Regions from separate parts of the Homo sapiens genome. Here region 2 is linked to region 1. The links are contacts of gene promoters, found by promoter capture Hi-C in human tissues and cell types (Jung and others, 2019). All regions are on one chromosome and are shown on one strand. Each heading gives the region's core, a stretch centred on a gene start or on the middle of the fragment in contact. The rest is flanking DNA. Distances are from core to core; before and after follow the strand shown.

The links. The method cuts DNA at HindIII sites, captures the fragments that hold promoters and counts their contacts. A contact is called where the count stands out against the background at its distance.
Region 2: a contact is called between a fragment that was not itself captured here and the fragment with the promoter of MDK in region 1, in 2 of the 25 tissues and cell types used here (IMR-90 fibroblasts and lymphoblastoid cells).

Annotation. Positions count from the first base shown.
Region 1 is chr11:46,378,937-46,386,705 of GRCh38, reverse strand. MDK (midkine) reads right to left here and starts at 5,037. Exons shown (of 5, transcript NM_002391.6): 1 at 4,948-5,037; 2 at 4,573-4,649; 3 at 4,245-4,412; 4 at 3,958-4,119; 5 at 2,905-3,237. The coding sequence starts at 4,648. The coding sequence ends at 3,212. DGKZ (diacylglycerol kinase zeta) reads right to left here. Exons shown (of 31, transcript NM_001199267.2): 28 at 7,595-7,715; 29 at 7,470-7,503; 30 at 7,138-7,237; 31 at 6,155-6,875. The coding sequence ends at 6,759. It overlaps CHRM4 (cholinergic receptor muscarinic 4), which reads left to right. Exons shown (of 2, transcript NM_000741.5): 2 at 120-2,917. The coding sequence starts at 149. The coding sequence ends at 1,588. RefSeq lists silencers at 4,053-4,347, 4,323-4,372, 4,793-4,902, 5,333-5,532, 5,963-6,172 and an enhancer at 5,672-6,306. The HindIII fragment of the contact is 7,629 bases long and covers 1-6,039 here.
Region 2 is chr11:46,460,992-46,468,760 of GRCh38, reverse strand. All of the region lies in intron 11 of AMBRA1 (autophagy and beclin 1 regulator 1), which reads left to right. Among named protein-coding and RNA genes, the nearest start is that of MIR3160-1, 13 kb to the right of the region's middle. The HindIII fragment of the contact is 5,711 bases long and covers 667-6,377 here.

The DNA of each region.
Region 1 (7,769 bases), core at 3,788-6,287:
AGTTCTCTCAAGGCATTCTGCCAGAGAATGTCCCTCTGTCACCTTGAATCCAGTGTACCTCCAGATGACTCCCCCATTCCCTCCTGTAGTTCATGCTTTTCTCTCCCCTTCCTCCCCAGACACGGCCTACCCACCCCTGGCAACCAACATGGCCAACTTCACACCTGTCAATGGCAGCTCGGGCAATCAGTCCGTGCGCCTGGTCACGTCATCATCCCACAATCGCTATGAGACGGTGGAAATGGTCTTCATTGCCACAGTGACAGGCTCCCTGAGCCTGGTGACTGTCGTGGGCAACATCCTGGTGATGCTGTCCATCAAGGTCAACAGGCAGCTGCAGACAGTCAACAACTACTTCCTCTTCAGCCTGGCGTGTGCTGATCTCATCATAGGCGCCTTCTCCATGAACCTCTACACCGTGTACATCATCAAGGGCTACTGGCCCCTGGGCGCCGTGGTCTGCGACCTGTGGCTGGCCCTGGACTACGTGGTGAGCAACGCCTCCGTCATGAACCTTCTCATCATCAGCTTTGACCGCTACTTCTGCGTCACCAAGCCTCTCACCTACCCTGCCCGGCGCACCACCAAGATGGCAGGCCTCATGATTGCTGCTGCCTGGGTACTGTCCTTCGTGCTCTGGGCGCCTGCCATCTTGTTCTGGCAGTTTGTGGTGGGTAAGCGGACGGTGCCCGACAACCAGTGCTTCATCCAGTTCCTGTCCAACCCAGCAGTGACCTTTGGCACAGCCATTGCTGCCTTCTACCTGCCTGTGGTCATCATGACGGTGCTGTACATCCACATCTCCCTGGCCAGTCGCAGCCGAGTCCACAAGCACCGGCCCGAGGGCCCGAAGGAGAAGAAAGCCAAGACGCTGGCCTTCCTCAAGAGCCCACTAATGAAGCAGAGCGTCAAGAAGCCCCCGCCCGGGGAGGCCGCCCGGGAGGAGCTGCGCAATGGCAAGCTGGAGGAGGCCCCCCCGCCAGCGCTGCCACCGCCACCGCGCCCCGTGGCTGATAAGGACACTTCCAATGAGTCCAGCTCAGGCAGTGCCACCCAGAACACCAAGGAACGCCCAGCCACAGAGCTGTCCACCACAGAGGCCACCACGCCCGCCATGCCCGCCCCTCCCCTGCAGCCGCGGGCCCTCAACCCAGCCTCCAGATGGTCCAAGATCCAGATTGTGACGAAGCAGACAGGCAATGAGTGTGTGACAGCCATTGAGATTGTGCCTGCCACGCCGGCTGGCATGCGCCCTGCGGCCAACGTGGCCCGCAAGTTCGCCAGCATCGCTCGCAACCAGGTGCGCAAGAAGCGGCAGATGGCGGCCCGGGAGCGCAAAGTGACACGAACGATCTTTGCCATTCTGCTAGCCTTCATCCTCACCTGGACGCCCTACAACGTCATGGTCCTGGTGAACACCTTCTGCCAGAGCTGCATCCCTGACACGGTGTGGTCCATTGGCTACTGGCTCTGCTACGTCAACAGCACCATCAACCCTGCCTGCTATGCTCTGTGCAACGCCACCTTTAAAAAGACCTTCCGGCACCTGCTGCTGTGCCAGTATCGGAACATCGGCACTGCCAGGTAGGCAGGCAGGAGTGCCCTAGGAGGTGCTGGTGTTGCGTGCGTGTGCTGGGGGGACCACACGGCTCACTTGCTGTGGGGAAGAGTTGCAGGCACCATTCTGCGTTCACGTTTGCTGAGGAGGAAGTTCAGAAGAGGCTCTGTGGCTGCATTCAGAGACCAGATCTCTGCTCAGGCTGAGGAGGCTCACCCCAGGGAGTGTCTGAACTGGGGCTGCCTGGCCCACCTCTGTGGCCCTGCTTCAGCGAGCTGCGGGGCACTGGCCTGGGTGGGCACCTGCCCCACTGTGACCAACCATCAGCAGTGCTGGAAGAATGGACATCTGGATGGGGGCCGAAGCCCAGGGCCCCCTCAGGAAGAACAAAGGGGCCAGTGCTTGGAAAAGGAGGCTTGGGAAGGGAGTAGAAGGGTGGGGTCCCCCATTCTGCTGTAATCGGTGCTTTCTGCCCCCTTGCACCCCGCATGTAGGCTCAGCCCCCTCTCCCCAAATCCCACTCCAGGGGCAGAAATCTCCTCTGGCTGCAGCTACTTAGCCAGGTTCTGGGTGGGTATGATGGAGGCCAGGTCCCCCCCGCCCCAGCAGCACTGCCCTTGTCACATTAAGATGGGGCAGCTGGGAGGTCAGAGGTTCTGTCTCAGGAACTGAGGTCTGGCCTTCTGCGATCCCAGGCTGAGCCGTGAGTGGTCCACGTATTCAGAAGACAGCCCCCTGCAGCCCCGGCCTTAGAAGGCTGTCCCAGGTCACACATCGAGTCAGGGTGAGGCTGTGGTGGATGGCATTCCCATCTGCCCTCTTCAAACCTCTCACCCCCTGGCTTCTGCAGGGTGGAGGCCTGGGTCACACAGGCAAGAGGAAAGGGGTCAACCTGGTGGCTCACTCGGGTTTCCATGACAGTGGGAAGGGGGGAGGTGGGCAGTGAGGTAGGCACGCAGCCCTCGCATCTGCTCTCCCCCATGGGTAGAACCTTCCTGATTGGCTGTGGGTTGTATCAAAAGACCTTTGACTGGGTGAGGCTGAGATGGGTGTGGTGGTTCCAGTGAGTCAGCCAGGTTCCCTTCCCCAGCCCTGGTCCCTGAGGGAGATGAGGACCGAAAGGCTTAGGTGACTTGATGGGGAGCACCCTTTCAGGGGCCCTGGAAGAAATGTTTGTAATTGTTCTGCTTTTTCCATGAGCTCTGGAGAGCACCCACCACCAAGCCCCCTGAAACCCACCAGTCCCTACAGCCTGGTCTTTCTCCCCACCTTCCCACTCCCAAACACATTTCCACAGCAAACTCCTTGGGAAGGGGCTTTTATATATTAAAAAAGAAGAGCTTTTATTGGGGGGAAAAAGTCAGTTTATTTGATGTGTTTCTTAGTAATGGAATTGTGGGGAAGAACAAAAGCGGGCTCTGGGACTCACATTGCTTTGGGGGAGGCTCAAGCTTCCCAGAATCCCTTGTCCCTCCCCACTTTGGGCACTTAGGGGTGGGGCTGGGGAGTGAGAGGGACAAGGCAGGGCATGATTGATTAAAGCTAACGAGCAGACAGAAGGCACTGGTGGGTCACATCTCGGGCCTGGGAGAGGGAGGGCGTGGGCCAGGCCCCATGTGACACCAGGGGCTCCTTGGCATCCAGGCTTGGCGTCTAGTCCTTTCCCTTCCCTTTCTTGGCTGTAAAACAAGAAAGAAATATTAATACCATATCAGCAGTTAGGCTGACCCATTGCAGACCGCCGGCTCCACAAACACCCGGGCATCAGGGAAGGAGAAGATTCTGCCCCCTAGTGGTTTCCAATCAGCTGACTCGGAAGCAGGGGATGGGGCAGCCATTGTGATGTGGACATGGGACATCCCCAGCTTCCTATTTCCACTTGGGATCAGAAAACCTTCAAGTTTCCAGTCCTAGTCCTGGTCACAGCAGCCCTGGGCATCCTCAGCCTCCTCACCTGAGAAGCGGGCAGATTCACCCCTGCCCTGCTGGCCTCGCTGGGCTGAGTCACGAGTGAGCTGAGAGGCCCAGGGTGGGCCTTGACCTCCTCCCAACACTAGAAAGGGCAGAGCTGACCAAATGCTGCCCGTGGCTGGAGAGCTGACAAAGGCAAGCCGTTCCAGGACACTCTCCCTGGGTCCTAAGCCAGATGCTCCAATGGAGTAGTTTGAGTTGGTCCCTATTTGGGCCAGGGAGGATTTATGTCCCCAGCATCACCTGCGGCCTCTCTTGTAGTGCCCATCTTCAGACTTTTCCAGGCAGGGAAGCCAAGTGAGGCGATGTCAGGAAGCCACTGGCCAGGACTCAAAACTTAAGGTTTAACTTGGAATTGTCCCCTCACAGGCGGGGGGGGGGGGGGGCAGCCCCCCGCGACAGCCCCACCCCCTTCTCCTTTCGCTGACCTTTGGCCTTTGCTTTGGTCTTGGGGGTGCAGGGCTTGGTGACGCGGATGGTCTCCTGGCACTGAGCATTGTAGCGCGCCTTCTTCAGGGTGCCTTGGCGGACTTTGGTGCCTGTGCCCCCATCACACGCACCCCAGTTCTCAAACTTGTACTTGCAGTCGGCTGGCGAGAGAGCGGCCCAGGTCAGCGCTGCGCGGCCCGCGGCCCCGCCCTCCGCCAAGGGTCCGCCCAGGCTTCGGCGAGGCTGTGCCCCCCGTCTCCTGCCCTCTGACTGCGCCCCGCCTCACCTCCAAACTCCTTCTTCCAGTTGCAGGGCACCCTGCACCGGATGCGCTGGGTCTGGGCCCCGCAGGTGCCCTCGCGGAAACCCACGCCGCAATCCTTGCTGCTGGGGGTGCAGGGCCCCCAGGCCCACTCAGCGCACTCGCTCCCCGGGCCGCCCTTCTTCACCTTATCTACAACGCGCGAGGAACAGAGTTCAGGACTGGGGCACGGGGAGACTCCCTCGGGAGCCGCCTTCCTGGGGTTCCAGGCTAGGAACCCAGGCGGCCCAGCCCAGAAGTGGAGGGGCCTCGCCTGCCCGTCCCCAGCCCTCCTTCGATCATCCCCCATCACCTTTCTTTTTGGCGACCGCGGAGGTGAGCGCCAGCAGGGCGAGGAGGGTGAGGAGGAGGAAGCCTCGGTGCTGCATCCTGAGGGGAGAGCCCGAGTCTGAATCCCTGGCCCGTCCCCTTCCCCACCGGGGGCCGCGTGCAGGGCCCTCCCACCTCCGCGTGCTCCACTTTCCAGGCCCCAAGTCGGGCTGCTAAGGTGGCGGCGGTGGGAAGACTTGGGGCGGCCCCTCGCCGCTAGCCCGGACGCACCGCTAAGAGGCGACTCCCCGGGGGACGCCTCGAGCCCAGGACGCAGCTCAGACCCCCACCCCCGCCTCCAGCCCCCAGCCCCTAGATCGGCCGCGGCCGGGCGGACCAGGGGCCGCCGCGCGCTCACTCGCTCGCTGCCCGCGCTGCTTCGCTCCCTCCCGCGCCGGGCCCGTCCCGCTCCGGCCGCCGCGGCCCCTTTTGTCTCCAGAACCGGTCTGAGCCGGTCACATGGGCCCCCGCCCCCTCTCCCCACCCCCCCAGGGAAGGACCCGCCCCGCCCCCTCCCCTCAAACCCGCACCGCCCCCGACCCCGGCGTCCCCGCCCCCGCTCCAGCCCGCGCCCCCCGCGCTTCTACTCCGGCGTCCGTGTTCCCGGCCCCGCGTCCTCGCGTCTCCCCGCCGGTGCCCTCTGCGCTGCGACGGCGGCCTCTCCCGGCCCCATCTTCCGAGCGGTGGTCTCCCGACCCCGGGCCCCGTCCCGCCCGCGCACACCGGCCCCCGGCCCACTCCCTGCGCCGCCGCCCGCTGCCCCCATCCCAGGTCGTCCCCTGCCGTACGCCAAGGCCCGGGCCGTTCTCAGGCCTCAGCTTCTCTTGCCTGCCGCGGAGCCCCGGCGCCTGTATAACCCGCGGGACCCGCTCCCCTCCACGGCCGGCTCAGCCCTGGCGCCCTGCTGGCTGCTGGGGAGGGGGCGCGGCCCACCTGGGGCGGTTTCCGCGGGTGGGCAGGGAAGCGCTCTGCTGTGCTGGGGGGAGTCTGGGACCCGGTCGCCCAGAGAAAGCCACGGGTGCGGTCGCCCAGTGCCTTTCCGGGAGCACAGGCTTGAGGGACTGCGAGTGGGGGTCCTGGGGGAGGAGCCCGCAGGCCTGGATTTGGTGAAACTTGGCGCTGACAGGAGCCGTCTGAGAAGTTCCAGATCCAGCCACATCGGCAGCTGCAAGTGCCCACCCCCTCTAACCCTGGGCCTGTGGCATTGCCTCGCCCGGTTCCCCCAAACCGGGAGAGCCCCCGAGGCCTGGGGGAGGGGCTTGCTCAAGGCCACAGGGCAAATGGGCCACAGAACCCGGGCTCGCCCCCGCCCCACCCCTCTTTCACTTTCATTGTTGTTCTCCGCGGGAAGCGGGAAGCCGGAGGGATCGGCCCCGCCCCCGGCCCCGACGAGCGCGGCCGCCGGGCAGAGGTCAGGAACCGGGCAGGCCCTGGGACCAACCACCAAACGGGAGCCGGGGCCCCAGGAAGGTGCTGTCGACAGCGTCCAGTCCCCCACCCCGAGGACAACCCCGCAGCCCCCGCTGCTTGTTAGACCTCCCCCGCAAAAGAAGAAAAGCAGAAAAGAAAAAAAAATCCACTTTACTGAGTCACACCCAGCTGTAAACATGTCACCGTGAGAGTCCCGCCCCCCACCCCCAGGCCGCACAGTCCGCGATGAAATGACAGGGGAGCGGGGAGGGTCGCCGGAGCGGGTGCCAAGCAAGGCAGGGCAGGCAAGTGCAGCAGGCGCTGAGTTTCCGGGAGGAAGCCCGGAGGAGGTGGGGTGGGGCAGGAGCGGGGGCTGGGGACCCGGCCGAAGACCAGGGGGCCCAGGAAGCCTCTTCCCGAAGGCCTCCCCCTCTCCAGCCCCTCCACTCCTGGGAGGGCATCTGCTGCGGCCAGGGAGCGCCCTGCCCCAGAACCCCGGCAAAGGCATATCCAACCCAGCCGTGTCTTGTTCCCTGTGAGCCTCCGGGTCCGGCGGGGTCCTCAGGGGAACAGGTGAGGCCCCCCCAGCTCCTGAGTCCAGCCCTAGGTCTGGGCGGCTCCTTAGGGGGCGGCATGGGGCTCTTTCCCTGGGGCCTAGGTCCCCCCGTGGCCGTCCCACTGGAATGTGGCAGTGAGGTGGGCAAGGAAGGCGCTCGTCCCCTGGCCGCATTGTCCCTCCTGCTGCCCGTGGGCGGCCCGCTACACAGCCGTCTCCTGGTCCTCCCGCTGGATCATCTGGTAGTGCTGCCGGTTCTCCAGGTAGGCGGCCAGCTCGGTGTCCTGAGCCTTCTCAGCCCGCTGCCGGGGAGTGTCGCCCTGGAGGAGGGCGGAGCTGCGATCAGCAGGGGCCAGAGGCAGGCCTAACCCCTAGCAGGCTGAGAGGCAGGGGCTCTACCTCCCTGTGGCCTGGTCAGGGAGGGAGGCCTCTCTGCCCACCAGCTCCTCCCCTGCTGGCTCAGGTTTCCCAGGGTCTGGACTGTGTCTTCCCAGGGACAGCCCCCAGCCCCAGCTCCCGCCTAGGACCTTGGGAAAGGTTTGGTTGGTGCCCTCGTGGGCTCCCTGCCTGCCGTCTGCTCACCTGCTGGTCTGTCTTCATGAGCGAGGCCCCGGCCTCCACGATGTAGTGGCAGATGGTGCGCTGGCCCAGGGCCGCTGCTTGGTGCAAACAGGTCTCCCCGCTGGGGGAGCAGGGGCTGGCTGTGTACCCCATCCCGTCCCCTGATCCACCCATCTGTCTCCCAAGGGCCATCAGAAAGGGCAGGAAGTTCAGGGCTCTGGGGCAATAGGGGTGGCCCAGGGGATGACAGATGTGACCAGGAAGTTTATGGGCTCTGACCTGACAAAATGGGAGGGGTGGGGAAAAGGGTGGTTTCCGGGGTGACCACGGTTCTGCACTGCCCAGATACTTACTTTTCCTCCACCGCATCAAGGATCTCTGGGGGGGCTGGAGAAGGGGAGGTGGTGGTCAGAGAGGCCTGGCAGCCCCTCCTCCTCCCACCTTGGCCCCAGGCCCTGGGCTCCACTGCCCGGCTCACCGTGGTCCAGCAGGTAGCGGACCACATCCTTGCTGCCAGTGCTGACTGCGTGGTGCAGGAGCGTGCGACTCTGCTCGTCTCGGTGCATGAGGTCGCCCCCAGCTCGGTGCAGCTCCTGGAGCTGAGGGCAGGAGGCATGGCAGGGCTGGACCTCCTGGGGCCACCCCTCCTTCCC
Region 2 (7,769 bases), core at 2,273-4,772, 84 kb before region 1:
GGCTCACTGCAAGCTCCGCCTCCCAGGTTCACGCCATTCTCCTGCCTCAGCCTCCTGAGTAACGGGGACTACAGGCGCCCGCCACCACACCCGGCTATTTTTTTTTTTGTATTTTTTTGTATTTTTAGTAGAGACGGGGTTTCACGGTGTTAGCTAGGATGGTCTCGATCTCCTGACCTTGTGATGCACCCACCTCAGCCTCCCAAAGTGCTGGGATTACAGGCGTGAGTCACTGCGCCTGGCCCTGGCCTTCCTTTTCTTTAAGAGTGATGCTTGTGCTACTAGGAGGCTGAGGTGGGAGGATTCCATAAGCCCAGGAGTTCAGAGTTACATTGAGCCAAGGGTAATGCTTGGGCCTCCTTCCTCTTCTTTTTTCTTTTTTTTCAAGAGATGAGGTCTCACTATATTGCCCAGGCTGTTCTCAAACTCCTGGACTCAAGCCATCCTCCTGCCTTGGCACCTCCTAAGGTGCTTGGGACTACCAGTGTGAGCCACCATGCTGCCCGCCACCCCTCCCCACTTTTTTTTGTATTAGTGATTGGTCCCACCACGCACTGCTTGCTGCATATTCTTTATCATCTATTGTTCTTATAATTCACAGAACCACTCAAAGAAGGCAGCTGTTGTTTGGCCATTTCTTCATTCAACAAATGTGTGAGGGTTTCCAATATACCTGTCACCATCCTATGCCCTGGAAGAATAGCAACCATGTTTTCCTAAGTAAACTGAAGATTCCAGGATCTCTTCTCACTATTCTAGCCCTGATTGAGGCCATTATGCTTTCGTAGCAGTTTCCTGCCTGGTTGTTCCCTGCTTATAATCTTCCCATGCCAGAAATACTTGCCAGTATGTGGCCCTAGACTTCTGGTAAACATGAAAGAATGAACATGTGTGTTTATCTCCACTCTCTCCCAGATCTCTTCTAAATTAACAGTAAAAGGGCCAGGTGCAGTGGCTCACACCTATAATCCCAGCACTTTGGGAGGATCACGTGAGGTCAGGAGTTTGAGACCAGCCTAGCTGACATGGTGAAATCCCATCTCTACTAAAACTACAAAAATTAGCCGGGTATGGTGGTGTGCTACTCGGGATGCTGAGGCAGGAGAATCGCTTGAACCCAGGAGGCAGAGGTTGCAGTGAGCTGAGATCGTGCCAGTGCACTCTAGCCTGGGCAACAGAGTGAGACTCCATCCCAAAAAAAAAAAAAAAAAGAGTAACATAGAGTAACAGTAAAGGAATTAGACAAAAGTATATATTCATTGTAAAAAGAGAATGGGAAAAAGCGAGTGATGATTAGTAAGTGATGACAAGAACATTTCTCTTCTAGAAGAAACAAAATTGCATGTGAAAGGAAATACGAATTTATTATACTATTCCTGTATTTGTGAATATTTATATAGTTATAATACTGTAAATAATTTACATTAACCCAAACATGGGATGTAACTATTTTGGAAGGATGGGGGAGAAAAGAAGGTAGGAACAAATCATCTCCCATCATAGGAAATCAGTAGATAATAGCGGAAATTGAAAAATCAGTTATAGGCCTAGTGCAGTGGCTCACACCTGTAATCCCAGTACTTTGGGAGGCTGAGGTGGGCAGATCCCTTGAGATCAGGAGTTTGAGACCAGCCTTGCCAACACGGTGAAACCCCTTCTCTACTAAAAATACAAAAATTAGCCAGGTGTGGTGGCGTGCACCTTAGTCCCAGCTATTCAGGAGGCTGAGACAGGAGAATCGCCTGGATCCGGGAGGTGAAGGTTTCAGTGAGCCAAGATCGTGCCACTGCACTCCAGCCTGGCAACAGAGCGAGACTCCATCTCAAAAAAAAAAAAAAGAAAAAAGAAAAGAAAAAAAGAAACATTAGTAATTTTAGAAATATGATGGTTAATTATCAGAAGAAAAAAAAGGTTTGAAAAGTGATTGCCTCTGGAGAACAGAAATCAAGGAGGGTGGGTCATGGGGCTGGAGGCTGCCATTTAACTTTATTAGCCTTGAATACTTTCTAACTTTAAAAATTATGGGTAGGTAGTACTTTGATAAAAATAAAAATTTGAAAGCTATCCACTGTGTAATTTACTTACTCAAAAATGTCAAAAGATTTCTCTTTCCTGCCACACAGATGACAAGTTCCTTATCTTTTTTCAACCTGATCTCTATTATTATTTATATAAGCCTTTGCTTCCCACTGAACTGGTATTAGCTCTTGACCCCTGAATCCACTTTGAGCAGTAACCTCTTTCTATCCTGAACCATTCTCCTTTCCACATGCTTCAAGCCCTAGTTCCTCTGTACTCTGTAAATTTCCTGCTCCTTCTCAGGTAGCCATTGGTGCCCAGTGGCCCCTTCCTAAATGGCTGTGGCTGTGGTTGGTCTCCTCGTTAGATACTCACATTGCCCTTTTTTTTTTTTTTAGACAGAGTCTTGCTCTGTTGCCCAGGCTAGAGTGCAGTGGCACGATCTCGGCTCACTGCAACCTCCGCCTCCTGGGTTCAAGTGATTCTCCTGCCTTAGCCTCCCAAGTAGCTGGGACTACAGGCGTGTGCCAGCACGCCTGGCCTCATTTATAATGCTTTTGATGGAAGTCCTATCTTCCCAACTGGATTGTAGGCTCCAAACAAGCAAGAAGTACATCTTACTACCATTTTATGTACATCTTCCACAGTGCTATTTGATAAATACCTGTTTAATATTCAGTTCTCACTCAGCCATCAAAAAGCTTTCTGTTTTGAGATCACTATTCTTTATTCTAGGCATGTCTCAAGACTCTGTACTTTAGTCTAGATCCCAAATCTGTGTATCTTTGTCAGCCTTAGTGAGGTTGAAGGCCAAGGCTTTATCTGTTTGCTGCTGATACTGTCGCTGGTTGGCACAGCATGCTAGTTGTTTTTTATAGAATATAGCATGGACAGTTGCACAATTTCTGTGAATGTTTAAGCAAGATTGTATGTATACATTTCAGAAGTTCTGTGTTACTTATGAGAAGTGCTAATTTATCATGAGCATCACTATTTTGGGGATGGATGAACCTTTTTCCTTTCTACCTCCTTACACTGATGATCCCTTACACTGCAAAGAGCCAGGAAAAACCAAAAGTAAATAAAGCCCTATGCAGTCTCCACTTTTTCTCTTTGCACTCTCTAACCACCTGGCTTTGCATGTTCCCTAGAGAGGCTTCCTCTGTGATATATCTTAGCCTGTTGAGCCCCAAAGTTACCTGAAATATTTAGGTCACTAGTTTTTAATCTTTAGAGAACAGTGAACTCTCTGAGAAAATATGGTAAAAACTTAGACCCTACACTAAGAAAAAAACACCTACACATAACTGTAGTAACGTGTGCCCAGGATTTTGTTTTTATTCCAATATGGTAAGGACAAAAGATGAAGAGATGATTGCCGTTGAAAGGATAGTTTGTTCCTTACAGTTCCCAAGAGATGAGCGTGTGCCATGCCACACAACACAAGGCCACATGGGGAAGTACCAGGGAGTCAGGAGGCAGAAGGAGGGCAGGGAGGAGCATGAGCCTTTATTGGGGTTTCTAGGGGAAGGGATGGGTGAGGCTAAGTAAGTTTAGGATTGGATCGGTTTGAATAATTTTGGCAGGGTCTGGGCTGTAGGTGTGGGCACTAGTTGTCCATACTTGGCCCTGGGGTGATTTAGGGCTGGGGAATATTGTCTTGGTGTTTATTTTTTTTTATTTTTTATTTTTATTTTTTGAGAGGGAATCTCACTGTGTCGCCAGGCTGGAGTGCGGTGGCGCGATCGCAGCTCACTGCAACCTCCACCTCCCGGTTCAAGTGATTCTCCTGCCTCAGACTCCTGAGTAGCTGGGATTACAGGCACCCACCACCATGCCTGGCTAATTTTTGTATTTTTAGTAGAGACGGGGTTTCACCCTGTTGGCCAGGATGGTCTCAAACTCTTGACCTCGTGATCCGACTGCCTTGGCCTCGCAAAGTGCTTGGATTACAGGTGTGAGCCACTGCGCCCGGCCTTGTCTCGGTGTTTAATAAAGGAGGTAGTTAGGGTATGGACTCTGGATTGGTTGGTTTGCATATCAAAGGCAAGTTGTTTGCAATCTCCAGGAAGTAACTAACCCTGGGAGGTACAGTTGCTTATCTGCAAAGCCCCTAAGATGTCAAAGCATCATAAAATATAGAAAATTAAAAATATTAATGTAATAACACACTCATGAACACATGCACAATTTTATTTGCTATTTCAGGGGTTTCTTGAACCACCTGAAGCCTATCTGTAGACCCAAGGTACAAAACCCAAATTGGGTCCTGGGAGCTCTGTGCCTTTGAATACAGTATTTGAGTTTAGTTTAGACCATCTCAGGAAGGTGCATAGTGAATTATTAAATCCAGGGAAATGCAGCAACTGCTCAACTTTTTTGGTAAAGCTTTTCTTTCTACTTTGTTTTGACTTTTATACTAGGAGCTTATTTGTGGGTATTTTGTGCCAAGAGGGATAAGCCTGCATTCTCTAATTGCTGCATCAAGTCTGCTCACAGGGCGTCCTGATGACATTTTAAATACATGGAAATTTTTGAATGCATGAAAACATCTAGTGCTGATTCTCTGGCACCTGCTCTTCTCTTCTTGGAGTTTATCCCATTGCCTAATTCTGTATATTGTTTCCAAACCTTTCATTAACCATTGTTGGAATTTTTGCTTTTTAACCTCAGCATCCCCACTTATCTTTTGAACAGAAACAAAAACTGTCTCTGACTACTAGGCATTTCCTAGAGTGAAAAGCTCCCTATCTCTCCTTTTCTGACTTTTCAGAGCATGAAATGGCTGTGCTAATCCTGTTGGCCCCAAGGCAAGAGCCTTGCAGAGGCTAACAAAGGAGAAGGCCTGCACCCACTTGGATCTTCCACAGGCCAGAGCAGGAATTTTTTTGTTACGTTTTACCAACTTGCAGAGGGAAGCCCGCCCACCCCGGCTTTGTTTTGGCTGCAGTTATATTTCCCCTGCATGAAACCATCAATTTCTTAGGGCCCCGAGTACTGTGCTATGTAGACTTCCAGAAGTTGGGTGCTTTCCTGGAGTTGCAGAAATCAGACAAAAGATTTTTAGGAATTTTGGAAGTGCCATTCTGACGATTGAGTGGGTATCTTCTCAAAGCCAAAGATACTTTGAGTCCTAGTTAACAAATTGAGTTGTAATTCTGTGCTTTTGTGCAAGGTACTCTTTAGTTAAGTGCAAGGATTCGGAGGTACTTAAGTCTCTCAGAGGGATTTAAGGTAGTCCCTACTCTTAAGGAGCTGACAGTCGAATAGTCCAAGTCAGATATATTCAAGTGGCCCTTTGTTTCTTTAATTAATATGGAGTTACTGCATACCTTCTACAGCAGAGCATCTATATATTTTATATAAAGATGAAGAAACTGTGTGTGTTCTTGCTATCAGAGGCACCTACTAATAATGTACTATGGGGATTCAGATTCAGGGAAAGTGTTGAGTGGGAATAGAACAGGTATACTTGGCTTGTAGATTTTGAGTTGGCCCCTGGTGGGCTGAATTTTAAACTCATCCTCAAGTGGAGTGAATAATGGTAGAGCATCCTGCAGAGGGCAGGAAATTGAGCAGAAGAACTGTAACAGAATAAGAGAGAAACAAAGTGCCATGGGGCTTCTGAAGAGGAGATCATAATCAGGTTAGTGAGATTAGAAAAGACTTCTTAGAAAAGGGGATTATTGGCCAGACGTGGTGGCTCACGCCTGTAATCCCAGCACTTTGAAAGGCCAAGGTAGGTGGATCACTTGAGGCCAGGAGTTTGAGACCAGCCTGGCCAATATGGTGAAACCCCGTCTCTACTAAAAATACAAAAATTAGCCAGACATGGTGGTGCACGCCTGTAATCCCAGCTACTTGGGAGTTTTGAAGCAAGGAGAATCGCTTGAACCTGGGAGGCGGAGGTTGCAGTGAGCTGGGATCGCACCACTGCACTTTAGCCTGGGTGACAGAGTGATACCCTGTCTCAAAAAAAAAAGGAGGGGGGTGAATTATTTGAGAAAGTACTTGAATGGGGAGATGAGGGATGAAGGGGATTTTAGTAAACATTGACTAGGGCAGGGAGGAGGGAGTCTAGATAGTGGGGGCAGTATGAGCAGAAGGTTTAAATGTAGGGATGTGTTTAAAACACATGTACAAAGTGATGGGTCTGGAGAGCAGTGGGAGACAAGCCCAGAGGGGTAGATGACAGACAGGTCCAGATCGAGGAGGGCCTTGAAGACCAACGAGTCTACCTCAGTGTAGTCAGTGAGGAGCCACTAAAGCTTTAGAGCAGGTAAGTGACAATCAAAAATCTGCTTTAAAAACAATCTGGCATTGAAGACAGACGTGAGGAGAGTAAAGAGGAAGATAGATGGTTTTGTATGGGACAAGGGCCCGGCGCTTAGTGTTGACTGCAAGATTATTTCCTGGTTTCCCATACCCCAAGGGGCATATAGAGAAGCTTGCAGGTTTTTGTGTATTCTTTATGATGACCAGCAACGGAGTTGGTCTTAAAAAGGTGTGTGCTTACACCGCCGTGCTCACTTGTTTACGCGCATCCCTAACTTGTGATAGCAGGTCCAGGGTTTTCTGGGAGATGCATGCAGCTCTGACAGAAAAGGAAACACCAAAATACATTTTAATCTCGTCAGATATCTCTTGTAAAAGCTAGAAATTTGCCACAGGCCTTTCTCAGACATTTATCTAACCTGACATTAAAATTATGAAGGATGAAGGGGATTTTAGTAAACATTGACTAGGGCAGGGAGGAAGGAGTCTAGATAGTGGGGGGCAGTATGAGACTTAAAATTAAGTCTTTCTTCTTTTCAGGGTAAGACGTTATATGGCATCAAGATGGCATTGAAGAGAAATGCTTGGGCCTGGGCATGTGTTTGCATGCTTCATCTGTGCAGACAGATTGTTCCTAGTTTGAACTCAGGAATTCCATGGCTTTAGAGTCTCTGCCTTTGTGGGGTACAAAGTTTATGTGACCATATGTCACTCAATAGCTGCCTGCAGAATAGTTTCACCAGTGCAGTAGCTCAGGCTTTACATGGTATGAACTTGATTCATCAAGACTCAGGACATGTTTCTGTGGGCATAATCTTTTATGTCAGCAATTCCAAATAAACAGAATGTAGACTTTCTGCCTGCCTCTGGAATTTAGTGGGACTCCACATCCCCAAGTATTTAACTTTAGCCAATTATGACCTCCCCCATACTATGTTGGTCAAGGCTTAAGATTGTGGGAAAGCACATAAATGTTCTTTCCTTTGTATTCCCAGTTGTTTGCTTTCGTTTGCTTCCTTCCTTCCTATTGTGAGAAATTTTAAAAATACTTGCAAACATATGCCCAGAAATTTTAGAGTAGTATCTATACAGGCATATATATGACATGCATTTGTGCTTCCACAACCAAAATTTAATAGTTATTGACATTTTGCCCTATTTGCCTCAACAAATTGAGTTGTTTTGCCCCATTTGTCTCAACAAGTTTATTATATTTTATTTTTCCAGTCAGGGTCTTCCTCTGTCACCCAGGCTGGAGTGCAATAGCAGGATCACAGCTCACTGCAGCCTTGACTTTCCAGGTTCAAGAGATCCTTCCACCTCAGCCTCCTAAATAGCTGGGACTATAGGCGTGTACCATCGTGCTTGGCTAATTTTTTAATTTTTTGTAGCAATAAAGTCTCATTAGATTGCTGAGGCTGGTCTCGAGCTCCTGAGCTCAAGGGGTCCTCCCGCCTCAGCCTCCCAAAGTGCTG